2 separate regions of the Homo sapiens genome follow, and region 2 is linked to region 1. The links are contacts of gene promoters, found by promoter capture Hi-C in human tissues and cell types (Jung and others, 2019). All regions are on one chromosome and are shown on one strand. Each heading gives the region's core, a stretch centred on a gene start or on the middle of the fragment in contact. The rest is flanking DNA. Distances are from core to core; before and after follow the strand shown.

Evidence for each region. Contacts are between HindIII fragments. The study calls those that stand out against the background at their distance.
Region 2: a contact is called between a fragment that was not itself captured here and the fragment with the promoter of DYNC1H1 in region 1, in 1 of the 25 tissues and cell types used here (lymphoblastoid cells).

What each region holds. Positions count from the first base shown.
Region 1 is chr14:101,961,653-101,967,802 of GRCh38, forward strand. DYNC1H1 (dynein cytoplasmic 1 heavy chain 1) reads left to right here and starts at 2,921. Exons shown (of 78, transcript NM_001376.5): 1 at 2,921-3,295. The coding sequence starts at 3,040. RefSeq lists enhancers at 2,474-2,613, 2,658-3,268, 3,269-3,878 and silencers at 2,754-2,913, 3,404-3,613. The HindIII fragment of the contact is 2,222 bases long and covers 772-2,993 here.
Region 2 is chr14:103,393,979-103,400,128 of GRCh38, forward strand. All of the region lies in intron 1 of MARK3 (microtubule affinity regulating kinase 3), which reads left to right. Among named protein-coding and RNA genes, the nearest start is that of MARK3, 12 kb to the left of the region's middle. RefSeq lists an enhancer at 5,772-6,150. The HindIII fragment of the contact is 4,447 bases long and covers 1,505-5,951 here.

The DNA of each region.
Region 1 (6,150 bases), core at 1,671-4,170:
GCTTAGACCTCCCTGCTCTCACAAGTGGGGATGAATGAATGAACGAATGAGCCCAAGATGGAAATTCTTTTTCTTTAAATTTATTATTATTATTATTATTATTATTATTATTATTATTTAGAGACGGGGTCTCACTCTCTTGCACAGGCTGGAGTGCAGTAGTGAGATCACAGCTCACTGCAGCCTCGACCTCCACCTCAACCTTTTGAGTAGCTGGGAACAAGGGTGTGCACCACCACACCTGGCCAAATGTGGAATTTCCAGGGAGTGGAGGGGAGATCCTGGGCACAGAGCCTGAAAGGGCTGGGGCAGCAGGGGTTCCTCTGAGGGGGTTGGTCCTGCCCGAAGGTTGTGAGAGGGAGAGGAAGGATGGTATGAAACTGGGCACCCGACTTGAGACTTGGACTTAAGGAGACATTGTTAAGAGAAGGGTGGGAATGAATGGGATCTCATCATGGATTTCCAATAGGATACAAGCGCCCTACCAGCCACTATCATCCCACATCAACCTAGAACGAATTCTCTCTCCAGCTTGCCCTGCCCCCTGCCCTGCCCAGAGTCTGTCCAAGCAGACTCTACCACAGACAGGAGAAAGCTGAGGCAGCAGAACAAGAGACGGGAGAGGCCAGGTTTGGGTGAGGGGCCCTACCCCCACCAGGGTCAGCTTGGGGTGTGCTGGAGCCAGAGTCCTGTGCCAGGAGGCAGAAGGGGCACCTTGAAAGAAGCTCCCCACACCCTTCAACCCTGGCACAGCCCAGCCAGCCACCCAGGTAATGCACTTAAAGTGCTCAGCACCCAGTCAGCGTTGACCACTCTTCTCGTTATATATTAAATACAACAAACATCTTTCAAGAACAAAAAGCAAGCATGTTTGGTCCATTCATGAATCCTTGTACACTGATTGTTCGGGTTCTTTCAGTTCCCATCCACTTAGAAATAACAAACATGTTTCATTTTGAGCCTATCCTACAGGGCCGCAAATCCGGAGCCTGCAGTTTGTTCTCTTGGCCTGGGGCCAGGTTGCAGATGTTTGAGTCCCTTGGATCCCTGAGTGGCTGCGTCTCCCAGTCTGGTGCTGACTCATGGTGCAGCCAGCATGCAGCCTGCCCATCGGCCAGGTCCCTGCAGGTTTCTGAGTCTCAGATGGTGGATGGCCTATTCAGAGTTCACAGATCTGCACCTAATAGACTTTCCTCTTTGTCCCTCTTTCTACCCCTAAAGTACATGTGAGGGGAAACCCTCTGCATGGTGCCTAGCACGCAGTGAACACTCAGCGTTCGCTGTCAGTGGTGTGTTATTATTATTCATTACCATTAGGATCCTTGCACAAACTCATCGCAGTTGCCTATTTATTTTTTCCAGGAAGATTACTCGGAACTGCTTAGGCACATCACACCAGGGCGGACTGATGGAGAGCAGGAAGATGGGGTATTCATCTGTCCCCTCTTCCACATGCTCCTTAAAGACAAGAATCATCTGATTAGTCTCCGTGTTCCAGCAACCCCCTGGGACCCAGCAACCGGTAATTAGGCAAGGAATAAGCTTATTGTATGTTTCACAGTTTTTCAAAGATGATTTGGGAGAATCAAATCATACCATCATCATTCCACCAATCAGGACTCGGCACTCTGACAGTGCACTTTGATGTTTAAAAAAAACAAAAAAACCAAAAAAAAAAAAAACGCCATTGGCTTCCCTCTCTCCACCCAACTTAAGAAAGAAGTTATGAATGTGAACTTTCAAAGGCCAATTACTACCCCTTAGAAGAACCTACCATCTCTAAACTACAAAGATGGGCAGCCTGGATTCTATTATTTTTATTATTTTACAAAATTCTTAATTTTTAAATACACATAGATATAGGGTCTCGCTAGGTTGACCAGGCTGGTCTTGGAACTTCTGGCCTCAAGCAATCCTCCCATCTCAGCCTCTCAAAATGCTAGGATTACAGGTGTGAGCCACCGCACCCAGCTGGGCAGCCTGGATTCTGGCTCTTATGTAGTCATGGTGTAGGGGAGGAGGTCGTGGTGGGTCCGAACTAGGGGGAAACTTGGTGGGCAGGCAACCCAGCCCCTGCCTTGTACGGACCCAGATACTGAGGCCCACAGAATGACAGTGCCAGCTCTAGGGGGCTGGAGGAGAGCCATTGCTGGAGGTAGCTGTTCTCAGTAGGTCTCCCTCTTGGTCCTCACAGCGTCCTCGGGGACAATGATTTTTGTCATTAGGAACCAGATCCCATCACAGCTTGGCTTTACGTACAGTGAAGGTGTCATTCCTGGCTTAACCTTACACTGCCCCGAAGGCCCCCTCCCCAGCTGTCCGTTTCCAGCCTGGCAATGGGACTCTCTGAGCACGCCCCTCATCTCCTCCCCCTCTGAAAAGTATCCTCAATCTCCCGGTCTATATCTAATAACACATCTGTCGTGCCTATATTTTGGTACCTGATACGTAGTCATTCATTCATTCAATGAGAGAACATTTAATGAGAGGTTAAGGGGCTTAGAACAACGCCGGGCACAGGCTAAGCGCTCACTAAACGTTAGCTCTCGCCAATAACATCACTGATTCACTATAAAGTTTCTCTGGCTGTGTGCTATTCGCTGCGTCCACAGCAGTGAAGAAGACAGACGCAGCCCCTGACCAACCTCGCCAAGCCCGGGCGCCGAGCCAGGACGTTGAGCCAAGTCCCCATCTCCTAGGACTCGCAGTGCGGAGGCTGCGGGCCCCGACCAGCGCCGAGACTACAAGTCCCAGAAGGGCGCGCGGCGACATCGCCGGGCCCGCCCCCCGCGCACGCGCGGCGCCGTGACGCTAAGGCCGCGAGCGAGCGCGGGTGGCTGCGGCGGCTGCGGCCGGCGGGGCGGGGCGGGGCCACCTGGCAGTGGCTGCCTTTAGGGCGGAGCCGGCTCCCGCTCTCCTCAGTCTGCGGTGGGCTAGCGGACGGTCCGGCTTCCGGCGGCCGTTTCTGTCTCTTGCTGGCTGTCTCGCTGAGTCGCGGCCGCCTTCTCATCGCTCCTGGAAGGTCCCGAGCGCGACACCATGTCGGAGCCCGGGGGCGGCGGCGGCGAGGACGGCTCGGCCGGATTGGAAGTGTCGGCCGTGCAGAATGTGGCGGACGTGTCGGTGCTGCAGAAGCACCTGCGCAAGCTGGTGCCGCTGCTGCTGGAGGACGGCGGCGAGGCGCCGGCCGCGCTGGAGGCGGCGCTGGAGGAGAAGAGCGCCCTGGAGCAGATGCGCAAGTTCCTTTCGGACCCGCAGGTCCACACGGTGCTGGTGGAGCGCTCCACGCTCAAAGGTGCGGGGCCGCGGAGGGCAGGGTCGCCAGAGCCAGGCCTCGCGGAATGCAGGGCCTGCCAGGTCCTCCGGGGTCGCAGATGTCCCCGGGATGGGAGGAGCCCGGCAGCTGCAGATGACCCCTGGATGGGCAGAGCCCGGCGGCCGCAGACGTCCCGCCGGCCGGGTCCCCAGGGCCGCAGACGCCCCGCAGAGGCCGGCGCGGCGCCCGGGGCTCGCCCTCGCCACACCCACTGCCCGGCCCGGAGCCCCCAGGGCGCCCCGCTCCTGGTCGCGGGGAGGGGAAAGGGGTCCCCGTCTGCCGTCACCCAAAACAATGGGGTCGCTTTGTCTGCTCGGGCCTCTCAAGATGGCCGAGTTGGGTGGAGACAGCGTCTCCCTGGGCTGAGAGCGGGCGAGGCCGCATCCCTGCCTCCAGTGTCACATGAGCTTTTCGGTTTCGATTTGTGTCCAAGCCAAGTGGCCTTCGGGAGGGATGTGTCGGGGGCAGACCCGCGGAGCTGGGGGCAGCCGGGGTTCTGGTTCGGGAGGAGGTCGGGCGGGTGTCCCAGCCCTGCCTTGTGGGGACCCAGAGGCCGAGGCCCACAGAGCGACGGTGCCAGCCCCGGGCCTGCGAGCATCACTGTTGTAGGTGGATGCTCTCACAGCATCCTTGCTGAACGGGTGTATCCTGATTTTACACCTGAGGAAACTGAGGCTCAGGTTAAGTGATTTCACCCAAGGTCACCAGCTAATCTTAGTCCTGAGACTAGACTCAGTGTCTCAGCTCCCCATCCACTGCTTGTTTTCACTGATCATACCTCATATTTGTTTAATGCTTCGATGATGTTAATGATAACCCTGTAATATTTGAGTCTAATTTTACAGATTAAAAAAAAAAAAAAAGATTCAGGTTAGGCACCTAGTAGGGGGAAGAGGCTAGAGTTAGCGTGTTCCAGCTGTCTCCTCAAATAATGATCGCCCACCAGCAAGGTTACATTCATCTAAGTCTGGGGCTTGCCTGCAGGCAGGCTTTCTCATGGATTCATTACAACCACTTTGTAGCCCATTACAACCACTTTGGGTGTGGCGTGTCCATCTAAGAACCTAAGGATGATGTCCAAGGTTAGCCTCTAGGGATTGGAGATTGTCTAAAAATATTTGCCAACAAGCTTCTTAAAATTTCAAAAAACTGTATGGTTCTCTCAGTGAGAGACCCTGTACTGTCTGCCCCATCCTTAACACACACTGTGTTTCTGATGGTTTGTTTCTTTCAAAGGCTATTCTTACTCAGAAGATGCTTCCCTGTAGCCTTGGTTTCCTGCCAGAGATTAGCAGGGTGTAAAAGAATATTTTTTTCTTATATCCACGTGGAATGTTCAAGGCAAATAAACCATTTGAGCATATTTAGAGTATTAATGTTTTTGAGGGTTGTTTACTGTGATGTTTGGGATTATGTATTCCTAAGTGGAAGCCACAAAAGTTAAAAAAAAAAAATTTATCTACTCTTTTTTTTTTCCAAAAAACATATAGTCATTGTAGAAAATGTACTATACAGCTAAAGTAAAAATCACTGGGAATTGTTTGACCCAGATATAATCACTGTCAGCATTTTTGGTTTATGTCTTTGTGGTCATTTTTCAATGCATATTCGTCATTTTATTAAAATACATTTTAATCTGCATTTTTAAAGTTAATTGTATTTTGAGTAGCTTGACCATTGCTAATCCTTGATATTTTTATTGCATAGTTTATGTATTAGAATCAGTGATTTTATTTTTTTTACCTTGTGTCACTCTTTTTATGAAAAAAAATTTAAGTTTTATACTTTGCTTCTAGAGTGATCACCAGTAATTCGCTTTTTCCAGGCATCTTAAAATTGGACGTTGCTAAAATTATTGGGGTGGGGGGACTATGTTTATGTAGTACAATATCTACTACAAATTCTCTCTGTTGTCTTATGAGTACCTTTTTTTCTTTCAGCAAAACAAATATGCAGGTATCCAAATCTTGGCTCCATAATGACTTGCACTTTTGAAAGTTGACTAAGGAATGAGACTATCTAAAATTGAAATCCTACCTCATTTCTGTATTTATAACAATCCTTGAAGTATTTCTACCAATTCAACCTGTCTATAATTTATTTTTCACTTACAAAAACCTAAGGAAAGATTTTTAAATTAATCCAGTTTTATGATAGATGGTCTGTTTGTCTTATTAGCAGCCTGGCTACACTAGGACACCTTAGATATAAGTAGAGACCCAGGACTTTTGGTAGGAGGGCTTTCTTCTTGGTGGCTTTTATGAGTTAGCTTTGGCATTTGTACATTTAATCAAATATGTGCATCCAGTAGTTAATTACAGTGAAAAGATAGGCATGCATTAATGTAGACAACAGAGCTGAATTATTTAAACTGAATAAAGATCACCAACAATGAAGTCATGTAATTTAATGAACAGTAGAAATTACTTTTATTTATTTTATTCCTTCCACTTTTTTTGTGGAAGTATCCAAACACTTGTAATTGAATATAGAAACATTTTTATGTGAAACTATATATATTTTTTATTTGTTTGTTTGTTTTAGCTACCCCAGCTAGCCATAAACTTTTGTTGTTAAAGTGCAGCATTGAGCTGGGTGCGGTGGCTCACACCTGTAATCCCAGCACTTTGGGAGACCAAGGCAGGAGGATCACTTGAGGCCAGGAGTTCAAGACCAGCCTGGGCAACATAGCAAGACCCTATCTCTACAGAAAATTAAAAAATAAGCCAGGCATGGTGGTGTATGCCAGTAGTTCCAGCTACTTGAGAAAATTGCTTGAGCCCAGGAGTTTGACGCTGTGGTGAACTAGGATCACACCACTTTGCTCCAGCCTG
Region 2 (6,150 bases), core at 2,478-4,977, 1.4 Mb after region 1:
CTGCCTTGGCCTCCCAAAGTGCTGGGATTACAGGCTTGAGCCACTGCGCTCGGCCTGCATTTTATTATTCTAAGATATAGCCAAATTTTATGCCTGGAATTTTTTCCTGGGCTGGAACAAATTCCTAGTAAGAGTCAGGGAATATTCCGTGACTTGTGGCTTTGGTTAAAAAAGAAAAAGGAGTCAGGGAATGCAGTACCCTCTGATCACCACTGGGAGGACTAAAGCAGAAAATTCATTTGTCTCATATCCATTTTCAAATTTCAAATTAAACATGAAGGAGAAAATAAATCTCTTACCTGGGAAGCTTTAATGTCCTGTCTCACACAAGAAGTTAAAGGTTGTGCTTGGAGTTGGTCTGCAAAAGTAATAAGGAATTTGTACTCACCCGTCTGCACCTGCTTGTACAGAACAATTGGAAGGGCAGAAGTTGGCTTTGAAAGAAAAGGCCTTTTTTTGGAGGTGGGAGGGGCATCCAATTTTGTCTTCAGCCGAGAGTTCGCTAGCACTACACTCTAGCCACTCAAGCTGCTCAACTATGGTTGGTCTTGTGTACTTCTGTGTGCACTAGATAAGACATTGTTTCTGTGGGTTATGTGGGACCTTGAAGTTCAGTGTTGAAGCTCAAACAAAGCAGGTGTTTTTTCTGTATTTCTTGTTGACAGGCATTTGCTTTTTGTTGGACCTAAATATTGTGGGGTTTGTGTATGGACATTTGACACAAAAATCTGTATTGGTAGAATTTAATATAAAATCAGAGAAGTTGAATTCACAGGTTTTGTTCATAGAATTTTACATAACTCTAGTCTTTTTTCTTTTTTTGTGATGGAGTCTTGCTCTGTTGCCCAGGCTGGAGTGCAGTGGCATGATCTTGGCTCACTGCAACCTCTGCCTCCTGGGTTCAAGTGATTGTCCTGCCTCAGCCTCCCGAGTAGCTGGGATTACAGGCACCCGCCACCACGCCTGGCTAATTTTTGTATTTTTAGTAGAAACGGGGTTTCACCATGGCCAGGCTGGTCTTGAACTCCTGACCTCAAGTGATCCACCTGCCTCGGCCTCCCAAAGTGCTAGGATTATAGGCATGAGCCACAGCGCCTGGCCACAATCTTACACTACTTTCCTGAAGGGATGTGTGATGGAAAGAGTCTGGGCTTGAAAGTGGAAGACAAAAATGAGAGTCTAAGACTGATCGAGATAAAGATTCTGAAGAGGTAGAATGGACCTCATAAGATGGAGCAAAAAAGAAGGAACAACATATAAAAGGAGAAATTAGAATTTAGAGTTATAGACTGGAATTTGAAACTAGTCTTGAGATTTAACTGTGGACAAATTCACTCGGCTGTGCCTCATGGTTTTTTTTTTTTTAAATCAAAAGAGAATAACATCATTCAAGTTGTGTCTTGGTTTTTTTGTTTGTTTACTTAGATTTTTATGACTTCACTTTCTCAATTTCCTCTGTGGCCAGATTCATCAGGCATTCAGTCACTTTCATCTCTGTCAGGCTGGCCTTGTGTTCTGTCTGTCTGTTCTGCTGCATAGTTGTCATCCTGAGATCTCCCTTCACCCATATCCTAGGGATTCCCTTTGCCTTTCCTGTTCGATCCATTTTCTTCCCCTTGGTTCACTCCCAGGTTTCATTGCAGCAGTTCCTCCAGTGATTTTCTGAGAAAGTTGCTCAGAGGTAAATTTTTAAAATCCTTTCATATCTGCAAACATCTTTATTCTGTTCTCATACTTGATTGATATTTTGGCTGCATATAGAATTCTAGACTGAATGCCCTTTTTCCTCAGAATTTTGTTTTCTGTCTTATATAGCATCTGACACTCCGATTTGGAGAGAGAGAATGCTATTTTGAGTCTTGCTTATTTTTCTGTTTGTTTAAGGCTGATTGGAAGTTTTGTGCATTTGGATGGATCTTGAATACAACAGTGGGACACACTGTTATTTCTTTGTGGTGCTCTTGATACCAATATATTTAGTCTTATCACTTGGCCTAGGCAAGCACGGAATGCCCATGTTCCAGGGAGCTGAGTCGGGAGAGGGCAGAAGGAAAGATCTGTGGCTTTCTGCTTTCTCTGCTTGTTTTCAGTGTCCCTGCCCTCAGTTGTGCCCTGTGTCCCCAAGCCCAGAGACTTTCCATTTTGCCCTTTCTAAAGAACCTCCAGTTTTTTGCCTGAGTGGGAGAGGAGACCCGGGGGTCTGTTATTTAACAGACTGATAGATCTTCTTGTTTCAGGCTTACTTCACTCACACTTCTAGAGGTACTTGTACTACCAGTTCCTGAACCTTTTGAGAGTTCTATAATACAAATCAGGATTTTCCAATATCTCCATAGCTGGCTTAGGATTAATCTTTCTTATATGTGTTAAGTCATTTTCCTTCTTTTTTTAGTTTCTGAAAGTATATCTGTTACCACTTTTATTTTCTTTGTCTTGTGGCTTTTTTCCTTATGCCTTATATTTTTTTCCTTTACTTTCATATTAATGGAGTTTGGAGAGGGAGGGGAAGTAAATGCAGCCATGATTTATAACCAGACTTGGATTAGGTGTTTACATATGTCAATACATGTCTTTAAAATTTAGCTAGTACTTGTTATTATAAATAACAAACTAAGATTGATAGGCTTCTTGAAAAATTGGCGGTAAATTTGGCTAATGGTGGGTTGTTGTAGTAGAGTAGCGTTTCCCCTTTTCACCCAAGCTTTGTTACCTCTTCTTGGGTGGTGCCTGGCCTGAGATGTCCTTCATCTCTCATAAGAACTCTCCTACTTGCCCTTTGAGGACTCCATCCCTTCACATCTTGGGGTACCTTTTTTCCTTCATCTCACCCAAATGTGATCATGTCCTTTGGGTGCCTAGAGCTGCATTATCCAGCACAGTAGCAACTAGCCACATGTGGGGCTACCAAGCACTTGAAACGTGGTTAGTTTGAATTTAGGTGTTCTGTAAGTATAAAAGATAAACCAGTTCAAAGACAGTATTTCAAAAATAGGATATAAAGCCTTTTTATATTATGCATTGAAATATTGGGGGGTATATTGAGTTAAATAAAATGGTATTTAATTTAACGTATTAAATATGTTTCTTTTTACATTTTTTAATGGAGCTACTAGAAAATTGAAAATTACATATGTATGTCACATTATACACCTATTGGACAGCATTAGAGTATTCACTCTGATTTTCTCTTGGGGCAGGAATTGCCCCTTGTTTCAGTTGCTATTCCCCCGTTAGCACCCCGTGTATATCATGAGTGCCTTGAAGGTTTGACACCACACTTTTCTGTTTCTTTTATTCCCTGCTAATGCCTACCATATAGTTGACTAGCCGAAAGTTACTGAATAAACATTTTTTTTTTTTTTTTTTGAGATGAAGTCTCACTCTGTCACCCAGACTGGAGTGCAGTGGTGCGATCTCGGCTCACCGCAACCTCCGCCTCCCAGGTTCAAACGATTCTCCTGCCTCAGCCTTCTGAGTAGCTGGGACTACAGGCACCCGCCACCATGCCTGGCTAATTTTTTTATTTTTAGTAGAGATGGGGTTTCACCATATTGGCCAGGCTGGTCTCGAACTCCTGACCTTGTGATCCTCCTGCCTCAGCCTCCTAAAGTGCTGGGATTACAGGCGTGAGCTACCGCACCTGGCCTGAATCAAGATTTTTTTAGCCACAACTTGTGCCTTACAAGTTTTTTATTCTAAGGATTAGACAAGTAAATTATTTTTCACCGTATTACATTAGTTCACCTACTATACCAGTAACAATTATTTTATTCAAAAGTGAAACAGATTTTACTATATTTATGGGACAATAACAGTTCCCCCTTCCTATTCATATTCTTAGATGCTTTCTCATAAATTCAGCTGTGAAGAGTCACATTATCTTTGATCCATGTGAGACTATCTTCTTGTTTTATCTACTCCTGTTAGTCTCCATATGTCATTACTCTTACCCTCCACCCCACGTTACTGTTTTAATGTGTTTAGTATGTGTATGTGTTCTTACATAGTTTATTTTGGTATGTTTGGTACTTTATGTAAATATTACATATGTCTTATCTGTGCGCTTAATATATTGCATCTAACTGCTGAATAGCAGTGAGATGTATGCATCTACCACATTTTACCAGTCTGCTCGCCAGAGGTGCACATGTTAATTTTCTCCAACTCTGTCACCACAAAAAAAATGCTTCAACATCTTCATGCATGTCCCCTTATGGAGCAATGTAAGAGTTTCTTTGGGATATATAGCTTGGAATGGACTTGATGGGTCACAGGAAATGTCAGATTGTTCTTCTAGATGGCTGCTTCCATCAATAGTGCACCACAGTTTTTGTATTCCCGTTTCTCTGCCAACATTTCAGAGCTTTCTGCCTTTTCCCTATCTAACAGGCCTAAGGTGATACTACATTGTGGTTTTAACTTGTATTTCTCTCTGATTTTTAGAATCTCTTTATACATTCCTTGGCTTTGGGTGCATTCTTGTTTTTTGCGGGGGTTGGTGATTTTTATCAAATCAAGGACAGACATCCCATTCTAATCCTAGTTTGCTATAGGAATTTTGTGGGGGCTTTTTGGTAGAGACAGGGTCTTGCTATGTTTGCCCAGGCGGGTCTCAAACTTCCGGGTTTAAGCAAGCCTCTTGCCTCAGCCTCTGAAGGTGCTGGGATTACAAGCATGAGTCACCATGCCTGGCCAAGAGTTTTTAAATTATAAATTGTTCAATCTTATCAAATCCTTTTTCTATGTTGAATGAAATAATTGCCTAGCTGCTTTCAAAAGTGAAACGTGACTTTGTGAATATTTCTAAAGTACAAAATACTTGGAGGACAGCCATTTATTGTCACAACTTGGCTTTGTAGTTTGTTTTTGTTTTTGTTTTTTAACATTTGGAAACCATACCTATGTGTTAAGTAAGTGGCTTGTGATTTAAGGAATAGAATGCATGTAAGGGCACACTTCTTTTGTTTTACAGAAGGGATCAAGTTCTGTTCAGGAAGATTTGAAACATAGTGTAAAGTTGTTGCTGTTTTAAACTTGTAAACCTGATTCTTCTCATGTGGGAGGTACGTAAGTAGGCCTCTCAGATTTCAGGTTGGTTCTCTGCCTGGTAGATACAAGGGCAAAACTATTCTGGAACCATATTGATGTTAAAAAAATTTTTTACGGACTTCCTGCCGGCAAGGATTTTTTTAAAAGATTTTTTAAATGTGTCTAAGAAATGTTTTAATTTGTCTTCTGATTATACAGTGATTTACAATTCATGCTTCTTTTATATGTGGGCAAAATTAAGAACTAATATGTAAAACAAAATGGAGCACATTCCCATTTTTCTTATTGCTTTGAGTTGATATGGCCCCTATGTCAGTAGTGCTTTGGCTGAACGTCACAAAGACCTAACACAGTGCCCTAAACAAATAGGGGGTTTGTTTTTCTCCAAAAAGAAATTTGGGGTAGGGTGCGGTGGCTCACACCTGTAATCCCAGCACTTTGGGAGGCCAAGGCGGGTGGATCACGAGGTCAGGAGATCGAGACCACGGTGAAACCTCGTCTCTACTAAAAATACGAAAAAAATTAGCCGGGCACGGTGGCGGGTACCTGTAGTCCCAGCTACTCGGGAGGCTGAGGCCAGAGAATGGCGTGAACCCGGGAGGCGGAGCTTGCAGTGAATCGAGATGGCGCCACTGCACTCCAGCCTGGGGCAACAGAGTGAGACTCCATCTCAAAAAAAAAAAAAGAAAAAAAAAAAAAAGAAAGGAATTTGGAGGTATGCAGCGTCTAGCTTTGGATCAGCAGTTCAGTAATATTGGAGTTGGTGGTATTTTAAGGTAGTTTTGTCTTTTCTGTCATGTTTGAGACCCTGTAGCTACAGGATAATGTTTTACAGTTACAGCTACATGGTTGCATTCAAGGAAGGAGGAAGGAACTGTACTGGCAACTCTGTCCTTACCCCCCCACCCTCCTTTTTTTTTTTTGAGATGAAGTTTCTGTCACTCAGGCTGGAGTGCAGTGGCGGAATCTCAGCTCACTGCAACTGTCGCCTCCCTTGTTCAAGCGATTCTCATGCCTCAGTCTTCTGAGTAGCTGGGATTACAGGCATGTGCCACCATGCCTGGCTAATTTTTGTACTTTTAGTAGAGATGGGGTTTCACC